Regions from separate parts of the Homo sapiens genome. Here all the other regions are linked to region 4. The links are contacts of gene promoters, found by promoter capture Hi-C in blood cells and fetal thymus (Javierre and others, 2016). All regions are on one chromosome and are shown on one strand. The core of a region is centred on a gene start or on the middle of the fragment in contact, and the rest is flanking DNA. Distances in the headings are between cores, read along the strand shown.

The links. Contacts are between HindIII fragments. The CHiCAGO score rates a contact against its expected background, and 5 or more counts as called.
Region 1: a fragment that was not itself captured here is called in contact with the fragment with the promoter of PTBP2 in region 4 in 1 of 17 cell types (M2 macrophages); the score reaches 5.1 in M2 macrophages.
Region 2: a fragment that was not itself captured here is called in contact with the fragment with the promoter of PTBP2 in region 4 in 2 of 17 cell types (M1 macrophages and M2 macrophages); the score reaches 5.9 in M1 macrophages.
Region 3: a contact is called between a fragment that was not itself captured here and the fragment with the promoter of PTBP2 in region 4, in 4 of 17 cell types (endothelial precursors, M2 macrophages, M1 macrophages and 1 more). The highest score is 12.2, in endothelial precursors.
Region 5: a contact is called between a fragment that was not itself captured here and the fragment with the promoter of PTBP2 in region 4, in 1 of 17 cell types (endothelial precursors). The highest score is 5.7, in endothelial precursors.

The regions. Positions count from the first base shown.
Region 1 is chr1:96,315,866-96,318,565 of GRCh38, reverse strand. All of the region lies in intron 3 of LINC01787 (long intergenic non-protein coding RNA 1787), which reads left to right. Among named protein-coding and RNA genes, the nearest start is that of LINC01787, 57 kb to the left of the region's middle. The HindIII fragment of the contact is 7,163 bases long and covers 1-2,700 here.
Region 2 is chr1:96,356,910-96,359,609 of GRCh38, reverse strand. The region is part of intron 1 of LINC01787 (long intergenic non-protein coding RNA 1787); the gene reads left to right. Among named protein-coding and RNA genes, the nearest start is that of LINC01787, 16 kb to the left of the region's middle. The HindIII fragment of the contact is 155 bases long and covers 1,296-1,450 here.
Region 3 is chr1:96,234,903-96,237,602 of GRCh38, reverse strand. No RefSeq gene overlaps it. Among named protein-coding and RNA genes, the nearest start is that of LINC01787, 140 kb to the left of the region's middle. The HindIII fragment of the contact is 1,656 bases long and covers 524-2,179 here.
Region 4 is chr1:96,720,361-96,723,060 of GRCh38, reverse strand. PTBP2 (polypyrimidine tract binding protein 2) reads right to left here and starts at 1,277. Exons shown (of 14, transcript NM_021190.4): 1 at 1,189-1,277. The coding sequence starts at 1,196. RefSeq lists silencers at 802-1,081, 1,312-1,511. The HindIII fragment of the contact is 2,234 bases long and covers 1,216-2,700 here.
Region 5 is chr1:96,217,474-96,220,173 of GRCh38, reverse strand. No RefSeq gene overlaps it. Among named protein-coding and RNA genes, the nearest start is that of LINC01787, 160 kb to the left of the region's middle. The HindIII fragment of the contact is 2,524 bases long and covers 115-2,638 here.

The DNA of each region.
Region 1 (2,700 bases), core at 48-2,547, 400 kb after region 4:
TATGTTTCTGCAAGGGGATGAGTGCTAGAAAGTCTTTCCTCTCCATCTTGCTGATGTCACTCCATCCTAATAGCCTTTAATAAGATGTTTATTTATTCCATTTATTGTGTCAGACCTGTCCTAGAGATAGAAGAGCAGAAGCACAAATGTTGCCTGAGTCCAATATGACTATTGAGCTGCCATACCAATGGTGAAATATTTACATCAAGACTTTTAAGTGAGAAAGTAATAGATGTTTATCTTATTTAACCCATTTTATTTTGGGTATCTATTACATATGACTATGTATTATAACTAACAGTCACTTAGCATTACTAATTTCACTATAATGTAGTATATGTATATATACACATATTAGATATAACCCTGAACAAATGGTATTGATTCCAAAAACCATAAATAAAATTGAATCCAATTTATTCTTTCTCACAACATGTGTGGGACTCACTGTATGTATGTTACTGTATTTATATTTTCTAAGCCTGTACCCAAGACTGTTTTGAAATCGTGGATAACAGAATCCAGAAATTAGCATTAACATTTTTAAACTGCAGTTTTATTCCTTAAGAATTATATTTTAAAGCACACTACTCCTTTGATATGAAAGATCACCTTAACAGACTATTTCTGCAGAGAAAATTGCAATCCTATGTTTTGTTACAGAGGTTTAACCCCATGGTGAAAAAAGTGCTTTGCATGATAATACTGAAGTGGTCTTCAGTTTGAGTGAAATTGCATCCATGGAGATTATGTATCACTAGAGAAATGGTTTCTAAACATAAATACGTGTGTACCCATGTTTAATCACTTACCATCTACAAACCTAGGCAGAAACCTGATGATGAAAAAAACATGAATTTTATATTTCTCTCATGGTGGCAGAGACTCTAAAGAGGATAAGAGTGAGAGTGTTAGAGCTCAATTTGTACTATTCTGATAAACACATTCTTCAAGACCAGGAATTGTCAAACTATGTCTTGCTGGCCAAATCCAACTCAAGGCCTGTTTTTGTATTGCTCATGAGCTATGAATAATTTTTAAATCTCTAAAGGATTGAGAAGAAGAAGAAACCCACAGATTACAAAAAATATTTGCAAACCATACAGCTGATAAGGAGCTAATATCCAAAATATATAAGGAATTTTAATAACTCAAGAACAAGAAAGCAACTCGCTTAAAAAATGAGCACAGGACCTGAACAGACGTTTCTTAAAAGAAGACATACAAATGACCAATAGATTAATTAAAAAATGCTCAGTATTCCTAATTATTAGGAAAATGCAAATTAAAACCACAACAAAATATCATCTGCACCTGTTAGAATGGATTTTATTAAAAAATGAAATATAATAAGTGTTGGCAATGATGTGGAGAAAAGGGGATCCTTATATACTACTAGTGGGGATGTAAAGTAGTACAGCCATTATGGAAAACGATATGGGGGTAGAACTACCATATGATCCAGCAATCTCACTTCTGGGAATATATCCAAAGAATTGAAATAGATATGTTGAAGGGATGTGTAAATTTTCATGTACATTGCAACATTATTTACAATAGGCAAGATATGGAATTAACTTAAATGTCCATCTAACTGATGAAGAAAGAAAATATTTAAAAAATATATATACACTATGGAACACTATTTAGCCTTTAAAAAAAGAACAAAATCATGTCATTTGGAACAAACCAGGCACAGAAAGACAAATATGTACTTTCCACTTATCTCCAGTTTTGCTTTTCAAAATTTCAGTTATCTAGGCTCAACCATGGTCTAAAAATATTAAATGAAAAATTTCAGAAATAAACAGTTGATAATTTGTAAATTGCATGCCATTCTGGGTAACATGATGAAATCTCTTGTCTTCCTGCTTCATTCCACCTGGGATATCAACCATCCTTTTGTCCAGCAAATTAACTTTGTATACACTACTTGCCCGTTAGTCACTTAGTAGCCATTTTGGTTACTAGACCTAAATAACTTAGTACACATAAGGTTCAGCACTATCTGCAGTTTCAAGCATCAACTGGGGGCCTTGAAACATATCTTTTATGCATAAGGGCGGACTGCTGTACTGGATGATCTCACTTATATATGGAATCTCAAAAAAGTTGAATTCACAGAAATAGAGAGTAGAATGATGGTTACCAGAAGCCTGGTGTGGGGGTGGGGAGGTGGGTGGGAAGGCAAGATGGGTTTGAGGACTGCTGGTCAAAGGGACAAAGTTTCAGCTAGACAAGAGGAATGTTTTAAGTTTTGGTCACACAGGGTGACCATAGTTAATAGTAATGTATTATATATTTCAAAATACATGAGTAAATATCAAATGTGTCATCACAAAAAATGTTAAACAAGTAGGTGATGAATATATTAATTAGCTTGATTTAATCATTCCACATTACATATACATGCCAAAATATCACATTGTGCTCCATAAATGTAATATATTATGGTTTGGCAGTTAAAAATAATATAAATTTTAAAAAGCAGCAGCAAGAGATATATATGTGGCCCCCAATGTCTAAAATATTTACTGCCTAGTCCTTTACAAATAAATCTGCTAATCCCTCAGACTCAATAACCCAACAATATGGAATACACTGAAGTTAGTGTGTATTATATAGATCGTCCTTGCATATAGTAGAATCGTAATGTTTGATAATAAATGAATTAATTAGTGGAGGGACACTATTTTTTCA
Region 2 (2,700 bases), core at 124-2,623, 360 kb after region 4:
GCCATTCACTCCAAGGCCTTGTATCTTCTGAGAGAGCAGAAACTGAATTAGGTGTGGATCTTCACTACCTGCAAAACCAGTCAAAACCCCCACCCCTTCCCAGGTTTGGGGTATCTCCCCGTCTTTCAGGTTCAGAATATTTGGCCTCGCTGCTTACAAACTTTCTCCACTCAGCCTTGGCATTTCCCAAGCAATTTCTCCTCAAAGGATCTTTAAAAACAATGTTGCTATTTCTTTCCTGGGGGCGTGGTGAAAAGCATATTTACCCAGTTGAAGTTGTCATGTGAAATCCCTGTTTTATGCATATAGATCACTTATCATACTTCCTAGCATGAGGTAAGTGCTCTATGAATGTGATGGAGAGCTGCTGTCTCTCCTGAGCCATCTTCCAGCTTCCTCAAGCTTTACAATCCTGCTCTGCGCCCAGGAGGCTGACATACAGGATGCATCATTGAGTTCCCATGTTCTCTGGCTTCTGGTTAGGCTCTGTCTATAGGGGGGATGAGAGACAGGGAGTACAGTTAGGTTGAGGAATTCATTCTCCTGGCTGCTCCCTGTGGAGTCACATGTGGCTGCCTCACTCTGTGGCAGGCTACAGCTTTTGCTGGATGGCCCATGCTTCATGGTCTTTTCTCTTCTTTTCCTGCCTCTTCATGCCTTAGATGTGGTGACACCTCCTGTGGTTACCAGCTCTAGAGTATTACCCCATCCTTTGTTGTTTTCCTCCTTTGGTAAATAGCTCCCATCCTCATTATTCTTAATATATATATATATTTTTTTTTCCCGAGATGGAGTGTCGCTCTGTCACCCAGGCTGGAGTGCAGTGGCGTGATCTTGGTTCATTGCAACCTCCATCTCCCGAGTTCAAGCAATTATCCTGCCTCAGCCTCTTGAGTAGATGGGATTACAGGCACGTATCACCACGTCCAGCAAATTTTTGTATTTTTAGTAGAGACAGGGTTACACCATGTTGGCCAGGCTGGTCTCAAACTCCTGACCCCAGGTGATCTACCCACCTCGGCCTCGCAAAGTGCTGGGATCACAGACATGAGCCACCACGCCCGGCCTCTTAATAAAATCTTTATTTTATTCAAGTATTGGGTTCTTAAGTGCTTCCTGGATCACTCTCAAAACTAGAGGAATAAATGTTGAGGCCAATCATAATCATTTTATTCCCATGTCAGCAAAAGATGGTCATGTGCTGCACTGCGGTCAGTTAAATAAAAGAAAGAGGGTTCCTGGGAGTACCTCAGAAGGTTTTCTTTACCCTTAAAAAGAGACACCTAATAAAAGCTTGTGCTTTTTATCTTTACATGTTGTGTGTATGGAAGTGATAGTTGGAGCCATTGGAGCCATCTTGTGACCATGAGTGAAAACCAAGAGAAAATCATAGAGAAATCGGACATTGTTAAGTTGCTGAATTAAGTCCAGAATTTCCTGCTGTCAAGCTTTTGTTATGGGATATAATTAATTTTCGGCAATTTAAATGACTTTAGTTGGAGTTTTATGTTACCTGTAGCTAAAAATAGCCTGGGGGATTAATCCCAATCTCTCTTTACACTTATTTGTTTTTAGTGCAAAAACAATTCCTAACAGAAAAATAATTATTTTCAATGTTTGGTAGCTGCTATTTTTTTCTATTGCATTGTATTTTCAAGTTAAGGCCATAAAATAATAAAGAACATTTGAATCTCTTTAAAGTGAAGACTTCCAGCGGTATAAAATTTTTGTATCATCTGAGAATTGGCACACTTCCGAGATGAGTGGGATAGGAAGTGGGAAATCTACAATTTCAACATATGTCTAATAGGGGTTAAATTTTTCTTGAGAGAACAAACAAAAAAAATAACATCTATAAGATTACAGAAAAAATGTTACCTTGCTTTTCTTAGAATTTCAGTTTTACTGTGGAAATTGTGGAGTCTGAAAAGGAAAAGCTATTTGCTTACAGAGTTAAAGGATAGACTATCCTGGAGACTCTGGAAAACTTTAGTATCAGCCATTCTACCAGTTACTGATTTACAATTTGCCAAATGCTTGGAAATTTCCTGGCCTATTGTTACCATGATGTAATTATTTGTTTAGCATATTTTCCAGCAAGAAAAGAGAGGTCGAAGACAGAAGTGGTAAGTTTTCAATTTCAGATACAGGTCAGAGGTAAAGGAGTCATATAGCTGAATTTTCCAGGAAAGACTCCATTTCTAATATGGATCAATTCATTCAGTTCTACTTCAGTGACTCAAGTATCACAGAACGTAAAGACCATAAGTCATATGAGTCATCTCTTTCATTTTTTTTTTTTACCAGAAACTCTATCAGTTGACCAGAAATAATTACAATTTCATAAATCCCCTACCTTCCTTAGGGAAGGTACATTTCCTTCTTTCTAATGCCTTTGTCATACAGAGACAGAAAATAAGGAAAAGATATCTGGGGATGGGAAAATGCTACTATCAACATTTATTCTGTTTCCTTCCTCTTTACTCCTTATTTTCAATTTTGTGTGCCAACTCAGGTAACCATCTTCCCACAAACCTAGACTGTGGTGGGGAACAAGGAGGGGGCAGATGTTGGCTCTGATAAATAGCTGCCCCTCTTTCTGTGCCTCTGCTACAAGGTACTTATTGATACAAAAATAAAAAAGTACTAAACATAGTAAACATAGTATCCAGTTTTTCTGTGTAAATCCAAAAAAGACAT
Region 3 (2,700 bases), core at 102-2,601, 490 kb after region 4:
TACTTTAAATGTGTAGCTGAGTCCTAGTACCAGTTGTAGTAAGCCTTGGGCTAGGTAGGGATAGGGTGGAAGGGAGGGTTACAATGGGGGTTGGCTGGGGATCTACCATTGTAAAAAGGTCTTACCCTTTACACCTTCTCTATTTTTTTTACGGTCTTGATTTCACACCACTCTGACTCATAATTTTTTATTGTGCTTTTCACCATCAGGTCAGCATATTTGTTTATAAAGTTATTTAATCTGCATTGTATCTCCCTGCTACCATATCTATAGATATATTTCTCACACACCTGTAGAATAAACTAGACATAGTAAGGCTACAATGACAAGGCCACTAGGGATGTGCTGGTGATGATGATGATGATGATGAAGATGATGATGATTTTTAGAGGGTTCATCTTCTTTGTGCCAGGCATTATTTTAAGTACTTTACATGCAGACCCTGGACATACGATTGCACAGAGTGATCCCTGCAACAGGATGGCCAGGAAAGGGTCACGTGAGCTGAGATCTAGCGGAAGCTTTGCTTGCCATGTTCTGTCTCCTAGAGAAGGGAGGTGTGCACCCTGAGAGGCATCTTTGTCTAATCTCCAAATGTGCTTCTGGCTAGTAGCAGCTATGTTTATATGAATTCACTCATTTTATCACCACAACAGTAGTTTGAAGTATTGTTATCAAATATGTTAAAATAAGAGGCAGCTGGTGTTCAATAAAATCCCTAAAAATATAAAAGGATGTGTTGGGATTTGAAAACACCAATAAGAGCAGAGTTCATGCTTTGGTGAGCAGCAGCCCAGGATACAGGGCCACTGCATCCTGACACTGCCCTTTTTCTCTGTGATGGCACTTGAAATGTTTACAAAAGCATGTGCATCTTTGTTCATGTACCCACCTTATAGCTAAAGCAAACTGCACTTCACAGAATTTCTGCAACATGCTCTAAAATATATCCTAAATTCTTTCTGTTCTTAATCTTTAGCAAATGGACATCAAATATGGGGAGAACACAGGTTCTCACACGTAGCTATGAGAAAACAAAATGTACTTTTAGCTTTTTATATTTGGCAGTGTCACCTTACTTATTCACACACTATCCAGTATACCCAGAAAGCTGTCTGAATGCACTGAAATGGTTTGTAAATCTTGGTGATAAGTGGTTTTTATTTAAATGTAGAAATGACACCTTTGTCCTCAGATAGTTGACATTAAAAGGTTTCTATGAGGAAATAGAGCAGTAAGAAGGACATCAATGTGATTTCGCCACCTTGTGGCAGCTGATTAATTTTCAGCTTCTTTAGATCTCTTGAATTTCAAGGACTTTCTTGCTGTTGATTATCTCCAGTTCATTTCTGAGGCAAAAATTCCTATGTGAATTTATCGCTAAGATTCAGCCTCTTTTCATTCTCAGGGTCATTCTCTATTCACAAGTTGTGCACGACACATTAAGCACATCACTGCTGATGGCCAGTACCCTCCCATTTCCTTGGTGGCTAAAAGCACAATGTAATGTATTAAAGCCAGAAGGAGTGCTATGCAAATACCAGCTAAAAGCAACCTACAGCCTATCTTAGGACACTGTATAGTTGTCACATACTCAAATATTGCTTATCACTAGAAAGTGGGTCATGGTCAAATCTCAATTAAGCATTTCTATCAAGACCTCCCACCTGCTACCTAGGCAGCATGCTGGATTTGGTGCCTTGCAGGTGCTCCAGTGGTGTCAAAGCATAGGGGTGACTCTCAGAATTAGAAAATAATAGTAGTAACATCTTCTGTGATTAAAAATTCATAACAACCTCAGAAGGAATGAGTCTGTGGGAGGAAAATGCTTCTAAAGAAAGGCAAACTTCTTCCATACAGGTCTTTGGCAAACACAATCATCTCAAGAAAAGAAAGGGGATTACAGTTTAAATATATAATAAAAAAGAACCGAAAAGTAATAAAACTTCAAAAGCTGTAATACACTGTGTTAATGCCACAAATGTTTCTATGGTATTTCAAAGTAACTAGAATGAGTACTTTTAGTAATTTATTCGAGTCAAGGAGATAAGAGCCTTAAACATACTCATTCTTAGCAAAAACATGCTGTGGAAGTTATTGATCTTTCTGATCAGAAAGGAGTACGTTTAAATGAAGAGAGTACATTCTTGAAGCCTCGCAGATTTACAGTTTTGAAGCTTTTAATATAATGTGAGGATATACCTTCAACTTTACTGAAAGGAGATGACTCCAAGAAAAGAAATATCAAGGAAAAAGGTCTGAAAAGAAAGCAGGTTATCTCGGGTGATTGTTCCGTGTCGTCAAGAAAAAGAAGAAAATAAATCTGACCAACATCTGAAGACAAACTCAAACCATTTCAAGCCACAGGGCAAAGGGACAGGGAGGCCCCTGGATACTTGAACAGACCCTCTGGACTGGGGCATCTGTGTGTAACTTATCAGAAGAAAAAAGGGTTTGCTATGACTTAGTGATAAGTGTGTCACAATGAGGGGCTTTTGGAACACAACTTTCCTAAGGCCCACTTGCACAATTTGAAGGCCTGGGAGGGGTTTCCATGGGAGGCAAACTATTTCTTAAGGATGAGAGAAAACTAGAGAGGAAAAGAATAGAGGCTATCACATGAGATGAATTGAAATTTGGACTCACAGCCAGACACTGAAGACCATAGAAAAAAAGCCCCAAGGACGTGAAAACCTGTTA
Region 4 (2,700 bases), core at 28-2,527:
AAATCTTGTTTTTAGTACCTTTTAAAACACACCAAACTCTAGGCGCTTAACCAAATTGTTGATTCTTCAAATACTCACTGATTTTAATAAATGTACTTGTTAAATGATACTATGTTTACACTCCCAAAAGAGCTGCATACTGCTGTATTTTTGACCTTAAGCGTGCCCCCTTTCTAACATTGAGTTAAATTACTGAGTCTTTTCAGGTGTGAAGCATATGAGCGAGACATCGGTCCCTACCATTTCACAGTCTTGCCTCTCACCTCACTCAGCATTCCGTCTTGACTCAGGTTCGCAAAGATGCAGCATGGTTCTGGGTTTTTATAGTCGTTTTTCCAGAAACTGACCAAAGTAGCTAAAGAGATAGCCCTTTGTTGACTATCTGCTCTTGTTTCTGCCATTGCTGTTGGCCTTTGCCCATGTGACTGATGTCGGCTTCAAACACTTCGTTTTTTAGATGATTTAATTTCTGGGCCCTTTTGCCAAGCCTTGAATGTTTTCAGTCCCCACAAAAAGGCATTTTTTCCTCCCTCCCGCCCCCACTACCAGACTCAAATGAAAACAAAGGAGTATGACATCTGCCCTCCCCCTTCCTCCCGCCGCCGCACGCCCTCCCCCCTTCCCCAGCGGCTCCCACTAGGCTTTCCCCGGAGCTCCCGCCACCGGCATCTCTCCCGACCACGGAGGGCCGGGCGAGGCCGGAGAGGTTGCTCATGGCTGGGGTCCACATGGGGTGCCTCTCTCCTCTTCCCCTAGAGGCTCCCCCAATCCAAAGGCCTGTCTCTGCCCATCCCACTCGCTCTCACAGGCACCGCTAACCCAAGGGTCGGGTCCCAAGGTACGGATCGAAATGGCTCCTAGAGGGGGCAGGGACAGACCGGGGAGACGTTATGGGGTTCCCACCCCATCCCCCGCCGCCAAGCCGGTGCCCGCTCCCACTCCGGGATCCTCACCCCCGCCATCGCCCCTATGCCTCCCCAGCCTCCAAGCCCGCTTTCTTCTCATTTTCTCGACCAAAGCCCGCCGGGGGAAGCAAAGGGAGGGGTGTGTGCGATGGGGCGGGGGTTGGGTAACGGCAGCCCAGCCCTGGGAGGGGCCGCGGGAGGGTTTCTCCCCGGCCCGGGACCGGGCCGAAGGACGGTCCAACTCCTCTCTCACACACACCTTCTCGCCGGCCCGATTACATACCCGTCCATTGCCGAACCGGACAAAGCTTCGCTCACAAGAACCGAGCCACGCAGCCAGCGAGCCACACAAGCGGCGAGAAAATGGCGGCTGGGGCCCGACGGAAATTGCCGAAGGTGCCGAGGCGCACGGGCCACCGCGCGGCAGCGGCGGCGGCGGAAAGAGCCGAGCGCGCCGGCGCCCGGCAGCGGGAGGCGAGCGGCAGGGCGCTGGGACTAGGGGGAGTGGGCGCCGCAGCCGACGCCTCCTCCGCGCCTTCGCGCGCCTTTCTCCCTCCGCCCTCCGCCTGCCGTCCTCTGGAACCTGGCGTTCTGCTGCAGACCGCGGCGACCTGGTTTCCCCTCCTTGTGGGGGCGTGGGTGGGACACCTCCCAACAGCTCTCCACACTCTCTCTGCCCTGACTGCAGGACGCCCCCAGGCAGCCTCCACTTTTCACTCCAAGCCAAGTACCAGCTTGGCTACCGTCAACCTATGCGGGCCAAGGAAAAAACATTGGATAGCTTTTCTCCTAAGCCATCTTTTATTTGCAGACCGGCTCCAGCCTCTAAAACAAAAATCTTTACCCCACTGAACGAGACCACTTGGTAACAACAGTACTTTCTCAAGCAAGTAGAACTCCTCAGACTGAAATACAGGCTTTTGCTTCAAGACCTGTAGTACCAAGCCAAGTGGAGGAAAATGTGATTCTCACTTCAGTTGGTGATTAGTGTGCGCCTGTAGAAAATATTCACAATACGCTAGGTGGAAATAGACACAAATGGAGCCATGTGTTAAAATGCTACAATAGTTGGAGTTTAACATTTGGAGGCATGAAAGGGAAAGTGGAGATGGGAGTGGGAACAACTGAGTCTTCAGATTGGTTAGAGAAAGTAGAAGCATTAAAATGGGCTATGCAAATTGACTCCCTTTGCTATATCTTACGGTCTCAATTTTTACTTGATACTATAGTGGACATTTTACTTCAACGTGTTTTTATCAGAGGCTCAACAAAATTGGGAAAGGCACCCGCTTGAAAATTTGCTCAGTGAGTAGCGACTTTGCCAGTACCCATCCTTCTCCTGCACCCTTCACCTCCACCCCCAACACACACAAGGACAAATGCACTTCTAATTCTGAAAAATGACAAATACTCCCTGTGTCCCTCCAGTTACTCTCAATACTCACTCTGGGTTTTTCTGTGTCTCCTTCAGGCAAAGCTCTTATCCTTTGCTAATTGGAATTTCATATACTAAATGATATTGTGTATAATTTTTAGAATTTTTTTTTTTGAGACCCAGTCTCGCTCTTGTTGCCCAGGCTGAAGTGCAATGGCGCAATCTCGGCTCACTGCAACCTCGGCCTCCCTGGTTCAAGCGATTCTCCTGCCTCAGCCTCCCGAGTAGCTGGGATTACAGGCACGCGCCACCACGCCCAGCTAACTTTGTATTTTTAGTAGAGACAGGGTTTCTCCATGTTGGTCAGGTTGGTCTCGAACTCCTGACCTCAGGTGATCTGCCCTCCTCAGCCTCCCAAAG
Region 5 (2,700 bases), core at 127-2,626, 500 kb after region 4:
GTTAATTCCAAATACGTATATACTTTCATAATAATTGAAAGTTGTTTTCTAAAAGATGTGAAAGCATGTCCTGTCAATAGCCACTACTAGCTTGTTAATCAATTTTTACAAGCTTTGTCTGAGAGAGTTAATTTTTCAAAACTGTGTCACTAATTTCACATTGTGCTTCCTGAATAAACTCATTAGCTTCCCCTGTAAGTCTTAGTTTCTATTCACCAAAATTGCCTGCTCAAACGTGAAAAATACAGTAGGGAGAAAAAATAAAGCCTGTTGTTTTACTGACTCTGAATTCCTTTTGAAAACTTAATCACTTAGTTTGTGAGTTTAGATCCAACTCTAAGGTCATCCTGCAGAGTCAGTTCTCATTTTTTCCTCCCCTCTCCCCACAGAAATCAGGAGAACTAGGGTCATGTGCCCTCCATTCAACTTTGCAAGGATGGACATGTGAGAAGACTAAGTGAGCAGGACAGTAATGAAATGGCTATATTGTATGGTGTTTTTAAGGCTAATTTGTTATGGACTTAAGAAAGGTGAGGAAGGAAAATTGTTTTTCAAACTCGACACTATTGATATCTTGAGCGGAGAATTCTTTGTTAGAAGAGAGAGGAATTGTCCTGTGCATTGAAGAATGTTTAACAGCATTTCAGATCTCTGACCACAAAATGCCAGTAATACCACCCTAGTAGATGTGACAACAGAAAGTGTCTCCCGAGATTGCCAAGTGTTCCATTGGTGACAAAACTTTCATACCAAGATACATTCTTATAATATATGTAAGTAAAGAATCAAAAAATATTGCAAAATCATCGATTACTATAACCACGAGGGACTGGTTAAATTGAGGTAGCCATTGTGAATTACTGTAGACAAAACAAAACAAAAAACACAATTACTGCATCATCTCATCAAATGTGTTCATTCTTATGAATTGAGTCCTAGTTCCATAAGACCTCTGGGTGTCAAACAGAATCACTAGCCTTGTATTAAGTGAAAACACAGAACAGCATCTTTGAAAGTCAAGTCTGCAAGTCCATACAGAGAGTAGAATCTGAGAATTTCAGAGCTGGAAGGCATCTTGGAGAACATCTATACAAACATTGTCTTTTTACTGGTGGCCACTGAGTCTAGTCAGCGTATCTGACTTATCCAACATTACATAGCTAGTTAGTGGCAGTGGTGAGATAAGAATCCAAATCTTTGAAATCCAAATCCAGATTCTCTTTTCTATATCAAAGTATAGGTCTATTTAGTATGGCAGTTTACTGAAGTTTTTCATTGAATGTTTTCCAGCCCCATTCATATACGTAATTTAAAGCATGGTAATAGTCTAGTTAAAATTTGCTTCAAATTTTTAAGAATCAAATCTTATGGCATTATCATCTCAGATAATAATTTTCCAGACATCAGCTTTTATTTAGCAGTAGGCATGTTCATCTTGAGATCCATTTTAAAGCATCTTGGCACTTTCTTTTGGAAAATGTTATGTCATAATAATAAAATATGATTAGGTATTTCCACTTAAATATTTCTGAATCTCCTAAAACTTATTCTTCCTTCAAATCTCCCTCTAGTTTTCCCTAACTCTATTATTCTCCTAGTTTAAAAATTCACATTGCCTTTTACTAATTTTTTTTCTGAACACACAATAGCCAAACAATTTCTAAATCCCATTATTCCTTTTATTCATTGTCTTTTTGAAAAACAATTATTTCTTTTCAGCTCCATTGCCATCGGACTGTAGAGATCCTTATCAGTATGTCTACAGACTAGTAAGCTGAGACAAATGTGTTTTGCCATATTTAGTCTTTTCTCCATCTACTACCCAACTCACTTTGCATATCACCATCTGAGGATTCTTACTAAAATATTTATGTCATAAATCCACCAATAAGTAAATATTCATTGAACAATTCCTGGGTCCAGTTAATGCTTTAGACACAAAAGATGGGTAGAAGTGGTGGGGAGAGGAGGATTTGTAGCCAAAAAAATTTTAAACGAGCTTCCTGCTTCTATGAGTTTATTTTTCAGTTGAAATGCATATTGCAGTAAACTAAGAGGCTTAATGCAAGAGCACACATACATGCAAATAGGTAAATACAGAAACTTCACACTTGCCATTTCAAATTTCTAAGATGTTTATCCTGATTTCCAGTTCAAAGATGAATCTTAGTGATAGCTTGAAAAGTAATAACTATACACATGTATTAACCTTTATAATCCCATTTGTGATAATCTCAACACTTTGTTCTTTCCCCATGTGTGCTTGTTACAGCAACCAATTTTTCCAGTGGTAGCAACCAATGTGCAGTAGCAGCTGATGTCCCCATCTGTTTCTGCTTGCTTTCAATTAAATAAATCATTGTATCACATGCTCAAGCTGACCAATGAACCCTTGGCTAAGGCAGTTTTGGGAGGAACCTTCCAGCAATGTAGAAACTATTGGCCGAGACCAATATTTATTCAGGGATATTTATTCACAAGTCACCTCTCCATCAGGGTTCTATCTTCTAGGTTGCCATTTTCTGTCTTCCTGTTAAAGATGGAACCCAGACACTTACTTGTAAGATAATAGAGCAGAAATATAGGAAACAATGAGGCTCTGAGACCCTATCTAAACGGCCTCAGTGTGGCCTAAGCTTTGGATGGCGATTTAGCATTCATGTGTAATAAGTGCCCTTCTAGTAAAAATTATATATTCCC